Linked DNA regions of Homo sapiens: all the other regions are linked to region 1. The links are contacts of gene promoters, found by promoter capture Hi-C in human tissues and cell types (Jung and others, 2019). All regions are on one chromosome and are shown on one strand. Each heading gives the region's core, a stretch centred on a gene start or on the middle of the fragment in contact. The rest is flanking DNA. Distances are from core to core; before and after follow the strand shown. Region 1 holds the start of PEX10 (peroxisomal biogenesis factor 10). Region 2 overlaps WRAP73 (WD repeat containing, antisense to TP73). Region 3 holds the start of LRRC47 (leucine rich repeat containing 47).

What was found. Contacts are between HindIII fragments. The study calls those that stand out against the background at their distance.
Region 2: a contact is called between a fragment that was not itself captured here and the fragment with the promoter of PEX10 in region 1, in 1 of the 25 tissues and cell types used here (aorta).
Region 3: the fragment with the promoter of LRRC47 here is called in contact with the fragment with the promoter of PEX10 in region 1 in 1 of the 25 tissues and cell types used here (spleen).

Annotation. Positions count from the first base shown.
Region 1 is chr1:2,411,192-2,413,891 of GRCh38, reverse strand. It overlaps PEX10 (peroxisomal biogenesis factor 10), which reads left to right and starts at 1,328. Exons shown (of 6, transcript NM_002617.4): 1 at 1,328-1,501. The coding sequence starts at 1,390. RefSeq lists enhancers at 359-938, 939-1,519, 1,520-2,100, 2,101-2,681 and silencers at 603-1,202, 1,363-1,742. The HindIII fragment of the contact is 18,898 bases long and covers 1-2,700 here.
Region 2 is chr1:3,645,389-3,648,342 of GRCh38, reverse strand. WRAP73 (WD repeat containing, antisense to TP73) reads left to right here. Exons shown (of 12, transcript NM_017818.4): 2 at 783-935; 3 at 1,561-1,677. Among named protein-coding and RNA genes, the nearest start is that of WRAP73, 3.2 kb to the left of the region's middle. The HindIII fragment of the contact is 3,229 bases long and covers 1-2,954 here.
Region 3 is chr1:3,795,071-3,797,770 of GRCh38, reverse strand. LRRC47 (leucine rich repeat containing 47) reads left to right here and starts at 1,273. Exons shown (of 7, transcript NM_020710.3): 1 at 1,273-1,909. The coding sequence starts at 1,295. RefSeq lists an enhancer at 1,092-1,386 and a silencer at 1,502-1,711. The HindIII fragment of the contact is 16,536 bases long and covers 1-2,700 here.

The DNA.
Region 1 (2,700 bases), core at 79-2,578:
GCCACCCAGGCCATGCCCCTTCCCTGTAAGAGGGGCCATTCCTGCAGTGTGGGGCTCTGGCTTTGTGACTGGGCTGTGCCAGTCTGGGGATGATCCCACAGCTGAGCTCCTGTAGATGGAACCAGAGGTGAGGCAAGGAACTGGAGGCCCTCCCCACTGAGGTCAGCGGGGCGCAGACGCCCCCTTGTCGTGCCCTGCCTTCCTCCTGCAATCCTGCAGGACTCTCCAGGGCCAAGTGCTGCCCTTGGGGCCAAAAAACAGGGCCTTCTCCTTCACCTGCCCTGCAGCCATTCAGGTATGTACCAGGCATCTCCTGCCCTCCCTGGCCAGGCGGCCCCAGAGGCACAGGCCGCAGACACCGCAGGCGACCTGCGTGGGCCTCCAGTTCCCGCCCCAGCCCTTCCCACCCCCAGCTCAGGGCAGGTCCAGCTGTGGCCAGCGGCTGGGGAAGGTTCTGTCCCCTCCAGGTGTGCGGCCTTGGCAAGTGCTTCAGGCCTCCCTCCGCTCGTCCCCTGGGAGCAGAGGGATCGGAGCGCCTGCGATGTGGTTCCCCAGAGCACCTGCGGGGCTCAGGCCAGGCAGGGTGGAGGGTGGAGGGTGGAAGGCCACCTTCCGCCCGTCCTGGAACCACGCGGCGGCTTCCCGGCTGCCCCCCACCCGCCAGGCCCTGCCTCCCGTGGGCACCAGGGGGGCGTCCACACCAAGCCGGCCGTGTGCTTTTCGCGCAGGATTACTGGGGAAGGCGGCTGCTCGGGGCCTGGAAGGTCCCGGGTCTCGCCTCGTGCCCCTCTGGCCCCCAAACCGACCGGCTCCCCGGAACTGGCCAACCCGCGCTGAGAGCCCGCGCAGCTCAAAGGGCGCGAGGGCGGGACCGCCGCGGCCGGCGCTGGGAGCTCGGCTTCCCGAAGACCCAAGCGAAAGCCTCCGTCTCCCCAGCCGTAAATGGGCCTGCAGCGTCTCCACTCCGCAGCGCTGTCCCCAGTGGGAGGGCGGCCCGTGGACGTGCAGGGAGCAGAGCAGGGGCCCCTGGCAGCGTAGGACCCCGAGGTCGCAGCAACCACGCGGCCGCGAGCCCATCCCGCTGCCTCGCCAGCGCCCCTCGCGCGTGCCCCGCCCCCACCTCGGCTCGCGGGCCCCGCCCCGCTCCGCTCCGCCCTGCGCCTCCGACTACCTTCCCGCTGCCCCGCCCCGCGCTGCGCTGGTTCGGACTCCAGCCCCGCTTCCGCCCGGGCCCTGGCCCCGCCTCCAGCCCCAGTCCGGCCCCGCCCCAGCACCTTGACGCAGAGGTCTGCGCCGCACGCAGAGCCACGTCGTGCCGTCATCAGTTCTCGCCCGTCTGGGCGTGGGCGTGGCCGGCGTGGCTGCTCGGGACCACCCGAACCCGCGGCCATGGCCCCGGCCGCCGCCAGCCCCCCGGAGGTGATCCGCGCGGCGCAGAAGGACGAGTACTACCGCGGTGGGCTGCGGAGCGCGGCGGGCGGCGCCCTGCACAGCCTGGCGGGTGAGGGCCGGGCGCGGCCGGACGTCCTCGCGAGCGGCCCAGGGGGTGTTGCCCCTCATGGAGGCGGGGTGTCTGCCGTGTGTGGTCACGGTCGCCTGGGCCCGTCCCACAACCTGGGACCCGGCAGTCTCCTTCGCCTGCCCTGCGGCCATTCAGGGATGTGCGGGGCACCTCCTGCCCTCCCTGGCCAGGTGGCCCCAGAGGCACAGGCCGCAGACACCGCGGGGGACCTGCGTGGGCCTCCAGTTCCCGCCCAAGCCCTTCCCGTCCCCAGCTCAGGGCAGGTCCAGCTGACGCCAGCGGCTGGGGAAGACTCTGTCCCCTCCAGGTGTGAGGCCTTGGCAAGTGCTTCAAGCCTCCCTCCGATCCTCCCCTGTGAGCAGAGGGGTCAGAGCGCCCGCGGCGCGAACGCCTCATACCTCGGTCCGGTTCACACTGACCCCGGCCTTTCCTAGGCCTGAGCAGCAGCCCAGGCCCCTCGCCCTGCTGACCCCAGTGTAGGCTCAGCCAGGCCCTGCCTGCCTCACCAGGCCGGGAGCTGAGTACAGAAGCCAGTGTACTCAATGAAGCAGCACCTGTCATCCCAGCAGTTTGGGAGGCAGAGGCGGGAGGATCGCTTGAGCCCAGGAGTTTGAAACCAGCCTGGGCAACATGGCAAGACCCCGTCTCTACAAAAAATCTGAAAATTAGCCGGACGTGGTGGCGGCGTCTGTAATCCCAGCTCTTCAGGAGGCTGAGGCAAGAGAATCGCCTGAGCCCGAGGGATGAGGCTGCAGTGAGCCATGATTGTGCCGCTGCACTCCAGCCTGGGCGACGGGGCCAGACCCCATCACCGATTAAAAAACGAAAAAAAAAAGATGCCGGGTGTGGTGGCTCACGCCTGTAATCCCAGCACTTTGGGAGGCCGAGGCGGGTGGATCACTTGAGGTCAGGAGTTCGAGACCAGTCTACACAACATGGTGAAACCCCGTCTCTACTAAAAATACAAAAATCAGCAGGGCGTGGTGGCGCGTGCGTGTAATCCCAGCTACTTGGGAGGCTGAGACAGAATCACTTGAACCCGGGAGGCGGAGGTTGCAGTAAGCCAAGATCGTGCCACTGCACTCCAGTCTGGGCAACAGAGTGAGACTCCATCTCAAAAAAAAAAAAAAAAAAAAAAAGGCAAAGCCATCAAGTCTTTGGGGGGTGGGGCAGGCAGT
Region 2 (2,954 bases), core at 192-2,691, 1.2 Mb before region 1:
ACGAAGCAGTTAATATTTAAACATCAGTTCTTGATCTTGAAACTGTAGTAAAATATACATTCAGCAGGTGAGTACTCAGGCGTTATTTTTACTTGAAATTGTTTGCTTGGATAGGGACATAATGAACAAATATGGACAAGAAGAAACTATCTTTAAGAAAATAGTACTAACACTTAAACATTTCCCGTTTCGTGTTAGGAATAGGTTAATGGAGATAAATGAGCATTTGCGAAGCATCTTTATGTGTGCAGAAGTGAAAGCCTGTCTTTTGATCTTCTGTTGTTTTGGCTCTGAGTTCGGCACTGCATAAGAAGATTGATGCATTCCTTGCCATTTTCGTTGTCATCTGTGAAGCCTCAATTCTTACCCTTTATAAATTTGAGGAAATTGTCCAAAAGTGTTTATAAAACTAGCAGAGGATTTTGGTTATTAGTTCACAGAAGAGCTTTCTCCCAATGCTACTTCCCATTTAAGTTTAGTTTTTAACATACAGATAAGAAGGGACTTAAAAATGTCTTAAAGCTTTAAGTAGCGAGTTAAAACATACTTTTATACTTTACAATAGAGTATAGCAATATTAAAACCTGGCTTGTATATTTCAACATTACCCTTGTATGAACTGAACTGATCTTTAGGGGCTGGGGATGTCACTGGTGATCTAGACATGAAACCTCTGGCAGGAGAGAAGGCCACAGTCACTGAAGGCCAGGGCAGTAGCATTCCGAAGGCCCCCCTCTTTTGGAGTGGAGAATGTCAGGTGCTTGCTTTCTCATATTTTTTAGGCTTCCTGTGTCCAGTACCGGTTAGTGGTCCGGGATGTGAACACCCTTCAGATCCTTCAGCTGTACACGTGCCTAGACCAGATCCAGCACATCGAGTGGTCGGCAGACTCGCTCTTCATCCTGTGCGCCATGTACAAGCGAGGGCTGGTGCAGGTGTGTGCTGCCGTGTCGCTTAGAATCTGGACACCTTCTGAGGGCCCCTGGGAAGGAGGGGTTTTGTTCTGTGCCTTTCTAGTTTGAAAAAAAAGTCCGTGCAGCTCAAAGCCAGTTTTCTTTTGAAATTATAACGTTCTCTAAAGTTTAAGAACATTTAAACTAAGGAAACTCCAACGTAGTCTTAATTTCTAAGCAATATAGTTGAGAAACGGAGGTGTTGACAGCAATCTAGCCACGCGGATGTGGTGTGTTTCAGGAAGTCCTAAGAAGTCGTGTTTTCTTCTGTGTCCAAAGCTTAACTAAATGAGGTCTTAGGAATGACAATGTGAATAAACAGTTTTAAAACAACAACGAAATGAAATCACCAAGAAGCGTGGCTTACTTTTACACTGGAATCCAGCACCAGCCCTTCATCATGAAAGGTTCTAAAAGACACCCTGTGTGATCGGGTCTCTGCTGGTTTTAAGGGAGTTGTCTCTCGGCGAGGCCTCGCTATAGACTGCTGATGAGTTTGAAGACACCCTGTGCGGTCGGGTCTCCGCTGCGTTTAAGCGAGCTGTCCTCGCTGTCTCTCGGTGCTGATGAGTTTGCACTTGTGTGTTTCTTTCTTCTCTCAATCCAGGTCTGGTCTTTAGAGCAGCCCGAATGGCACTGCAAAATAGACGAGGGCTCAGCCGGGCTGGTGGCCTCGTGCTGGAGCCCGGACGGGCGCCACATTCTCAACACCACGGAATTCCATGTAAGTGTCAGCCCCAAGACACCTTACTGGCCATGTGATCCTGTCCTCTGCTCTCGAAACAGCTGGGGAGTGCGAGAGGGGGTGTGTTTGGAGTATGCTAGTCTCCCCTTATCCTCAGGGGATGCATTCTAAGACCACCAGGGGATTCAGATTGTACCAAACCCTGTATTTCCTGTGTTTTTTCCTATACAGCATACCTGTGATACATTTAATTTATAAATTAGATACAGTAAGAGATTAGCAACAATCATAGTATAGAACAAGGATAACAATATACTGTTTATAATTGCATGGATAGAAGATTTGGTCTTACTGAAGATCTGAGCAACAACCTCAGCATAGGATTTTTTCTTTCCTTGTTGCGTCAAGAACTTTCAGCTCGTCATTTAAAGGAAGCACTTTGTGGCTTCTCTTTGGCGTATCCAGATTGCGAGCCCCACCGCCCGTGCTTTGGGCTGCTACTGAGTCAGATAAGGGTGTCGTGAACACAGGCACTGTCTGCTGCCCTGGGTCTGATGACTGAGGTGGCTCCCGAGTGGCTGGTAGATTGGCGGGGTTGGAGGGAGCCGGGGAGCGTATATAGTGGTGTGTATATTTTAGGTCAGAGCATTATAAGCCACTAAGTATTATTGTCTGATCTTTTGTCCAGTTTTGAAGAAAAAACATTTTAAAAATCTTAATTTAGATTTTTTAGGATTTCGGCACTCCCTTTAATTCAACGATAGAAAATGCGCTGTGATATGAGCCGGCTCGCACCTTTCCTTCAGGAGCCTGGCCTGGGGGCGTGGCTCGGGGCGGTCGGCAGCCGCCCATTCACCTGCTGTAGGTACCGCACAACAGCCTCCGTGCTGAGCTCAGCGCGGAGGGGAATGTTGACATCCGAGAATAAATCAGAGGGATCTGGGATAGGAGACTGCATTTTAAGTTAAAATTAGGCATATGTCAAGTGTTTAGATACCAGGTCTTTGGTGTCCGCAGTGTCTTTTTAAGATACAGAAAAATGGACGAATTCCTTTAATAATGTGCTTTTCTGATGGAGTTGGATCCCAGTGTTTGGGCCCAAGTCCACTGAGTGCTCATAGCTGTCTGGGCTGCTGGCTGCACCTCGGTAACCCGCCCATCCCGCTGCGCCGCGCACACCACGGGGCAACCCGCCCATCCCGCTGCGCCGCGCACACCACGGGGCAACCCGCCCGTCCCGCTGCACGGCGCACACCACGGGGCAACCCGCCCGTCCCGCTGCGCCGCGCACACCACGGGGCAACCCGCCCGTCCCG
Region 3 (2,700 bases), core at 24-2,523, 1.4 Mb before region 1:
CTGAGGTCAGGTGTTCGAGACCAGCCTGGCCAACATGGCGAAAACCGGTTAATATAAAAATTATATTAACACGGTTAATATAAAAATTAACCGGCCACGGTGGCATGCACCTGTAGTTCCAGCGGGAGGCTGAGGCAGGAGAATTGCTTGAACCCAGGAGGCGGAGGTTGCAGTGAACCAAGATAGCATCACTGCACTCCAGCCTGGGTGACAGAGCGAGACTCCGTCTCAAGAAAAAAAAAAGAATTTTGGTTTTGGTTTACACCACTCAAAAGTGCAGGAATTCCAAAACAAGCCGGTCGGGGCACAGTAGAGCACAGACTCTGGCTCCTCCATCCGCCCGCACCCCACCCTGTGAAAGGAAAATAAATCTCAAAACCCCACAATCACTAAGTCAAAGGAAAAAGTCAAGCTGGGAACTGCTTCGGGCAAATCGGCCTCCCGTCTTATTCCTAAATAAGATAGTTACAAATACATATTTTTAAAGCTACACACCTCCCTCACAATTTGCCCACAAAGAAATTCTCTGTGGGCCTCAAGATCTTTACCCTAAAACAGTTCTGTTGAATTTCACCCTGGCAATGCAAATTGATAGCTTCCCTTCACAGGTGCGAGACAAAGGACTGAACTCAAAGCCATCCCTCTGCTCACCTAGACAAATGCATATCTGATCGCTTCCTTTGCTCTACTGTTTACGTAGAAATGAAGATTCAGTAAGCCAGACTAAAGCATAAGCGACTATTCCTCTACCCGCGTCTCACATGCATAATAAATTGTGCAGTCAGCGAAAGGCTGAACAAAGACTCAAAAGAATGCACCCTCCGGTCTCTTCTCTACCTGTGACCTGAAAGCCCTCTCCTGGAATTGTCCAGCCTTTCTGGGCTGAACCAAGGTACACTCGCACGTGTTGATTGATGTCTCACGTCTCCCCAAAATGTACAAAACCAAGCTGCATCCCAACTTCCCTGGGCACCATCGTCACGATCTCCTAGGGTTGTGACACTGGCGTGTCCTTAACCTTGGCAAAATAAACTTTTTACATTTCATTGAGTCCTGTCTCAGATATTTTTGGGTTCATAACCCCCACCCTCACCCCTACCCGCGGAGAGAGCGAGCCGCTCTCCAGCCCCTCCCCGGCTCTACGCAGGAGAGGCCACTCTCCTCTATGGCACGCGCGGCGGCACTCTAGCAGCCAGGTGGCTTCTCTATGGGCTTTTCCGGCACAGGTCGGAAGTGGCGCGCGCTGCCCCGGAAGCACCCTGGTGGGTGGGTGCCTGCCAGCAGCTGAGGCGCCATGGCGGCGGCAGCGGTGTCAGAGTCTTGGCCGGAGCTGGAGCTGGCTGAGCGCGAGCGGCGGCGGGAGCTGCTGCTGACGGGGCCCGGGCTGGAGGAGCGAGTGCGGGCGGCGGGTGGGCAGCTGCCGCCGCGGCTTTTCACCCTGCCGCTGCTGCACTACTTGGAAGTGAGCGGCTGCGGGAGCTTGCGCGCGCCGGGGCCTGGCCTGGCGCAGGGCCTGCCGCAGCTGCACAGCCTCGTGCTGCGGCGCAACGCGCTGGGGCCCGGCCTGAGCCCCGAGCTCGGGCCGCTGCCTGCCCTTCGGGTGCTCGACCTGTCGGGCAACGCGCTGGAGGCGCTGCCGCCGGGCCAAGGCCTGGGCCCCGCCGAGCCGCCGGGCCTTCCGCAGCTGCAGAGCCTCAACCTCAGCGGCAACCGGCTGCGCGAGCTGCCAGCCGACCTGGCGCGCTGCGCCCCGCGCCTGCAGAGCCTCAACCTCACCGGCAATTGCCTAGACTCCTTTCCCGCCGAGCTCTTTCGCCCCGGCGCGCTGCCCCTGCTCAGTGAACTGGCGGCTGCTGACAACTGCCTCCGAGAACTCAGCCCCGACATCGCCCACCTGGCCTCGCTCAAGGTCAGCGGGGGCTGCCCGGGCGGGGCGGGATGGGGCCTTGGAGTAGCCCTGGAGAAGGAACCCCTCTCGGGGCCGAGCAGTTCCTAGTGACGCCCCCTGGGGCACTGGGCCCAGGGAATTCCTACAAGGCTGAAAGGAGCCAGCTGCGGGGGGCATCACCCCTGGGAAGCAGATGCCGCCTTCCAACTCCCCCTTCTCCTGGCCACACCAACATACTAGGTGGCCTCTGAACTCCCCCGCATTCTGTTAACTGGACTTTTACACGTGGTACGCTATTTTGTAATTGTTAGCAAACCTGGCTTCTCCTGTAGATCGAGCGTAGAGACCTGTCTTTTTTGTATCTAGTACTTGTGAAGTGACTTGAGAGTGAGTCTGGTGGTGAAGGGGGCACCCTGGATTTTGCATAATGCCACATGCTGTGATCTTGAAGATTATATTTCACTTCATCCTAATAGCAGCTTTCCAAGGTAGGGGTGGTTATTCCTGTTTTACAGAAAGCCAAAGGGCCTGCCCAAAGTAAGCAGCAGGTAACTTGGGTTTTTCTCCAGACTATATTGTCCAGCGTCTGTTTACTAATTAATCTTGGATCCCCAGGCCCCGCGATAATGCTTGGCCTATAACAGGTGCCCATTGAATCTGTTGCCTAAAAGAAAGTAGGGAAGCCACATGGCAGAACCACGACCTAAACCCAGCCAGATGTTCTCTCCATCTTCTCTTTTGGTTTCATCCTTAAGGCAGTCCTGCATTTCTTCCCCCATTTTTCGTCTTTGAATTTATGCAGACATTTCTTT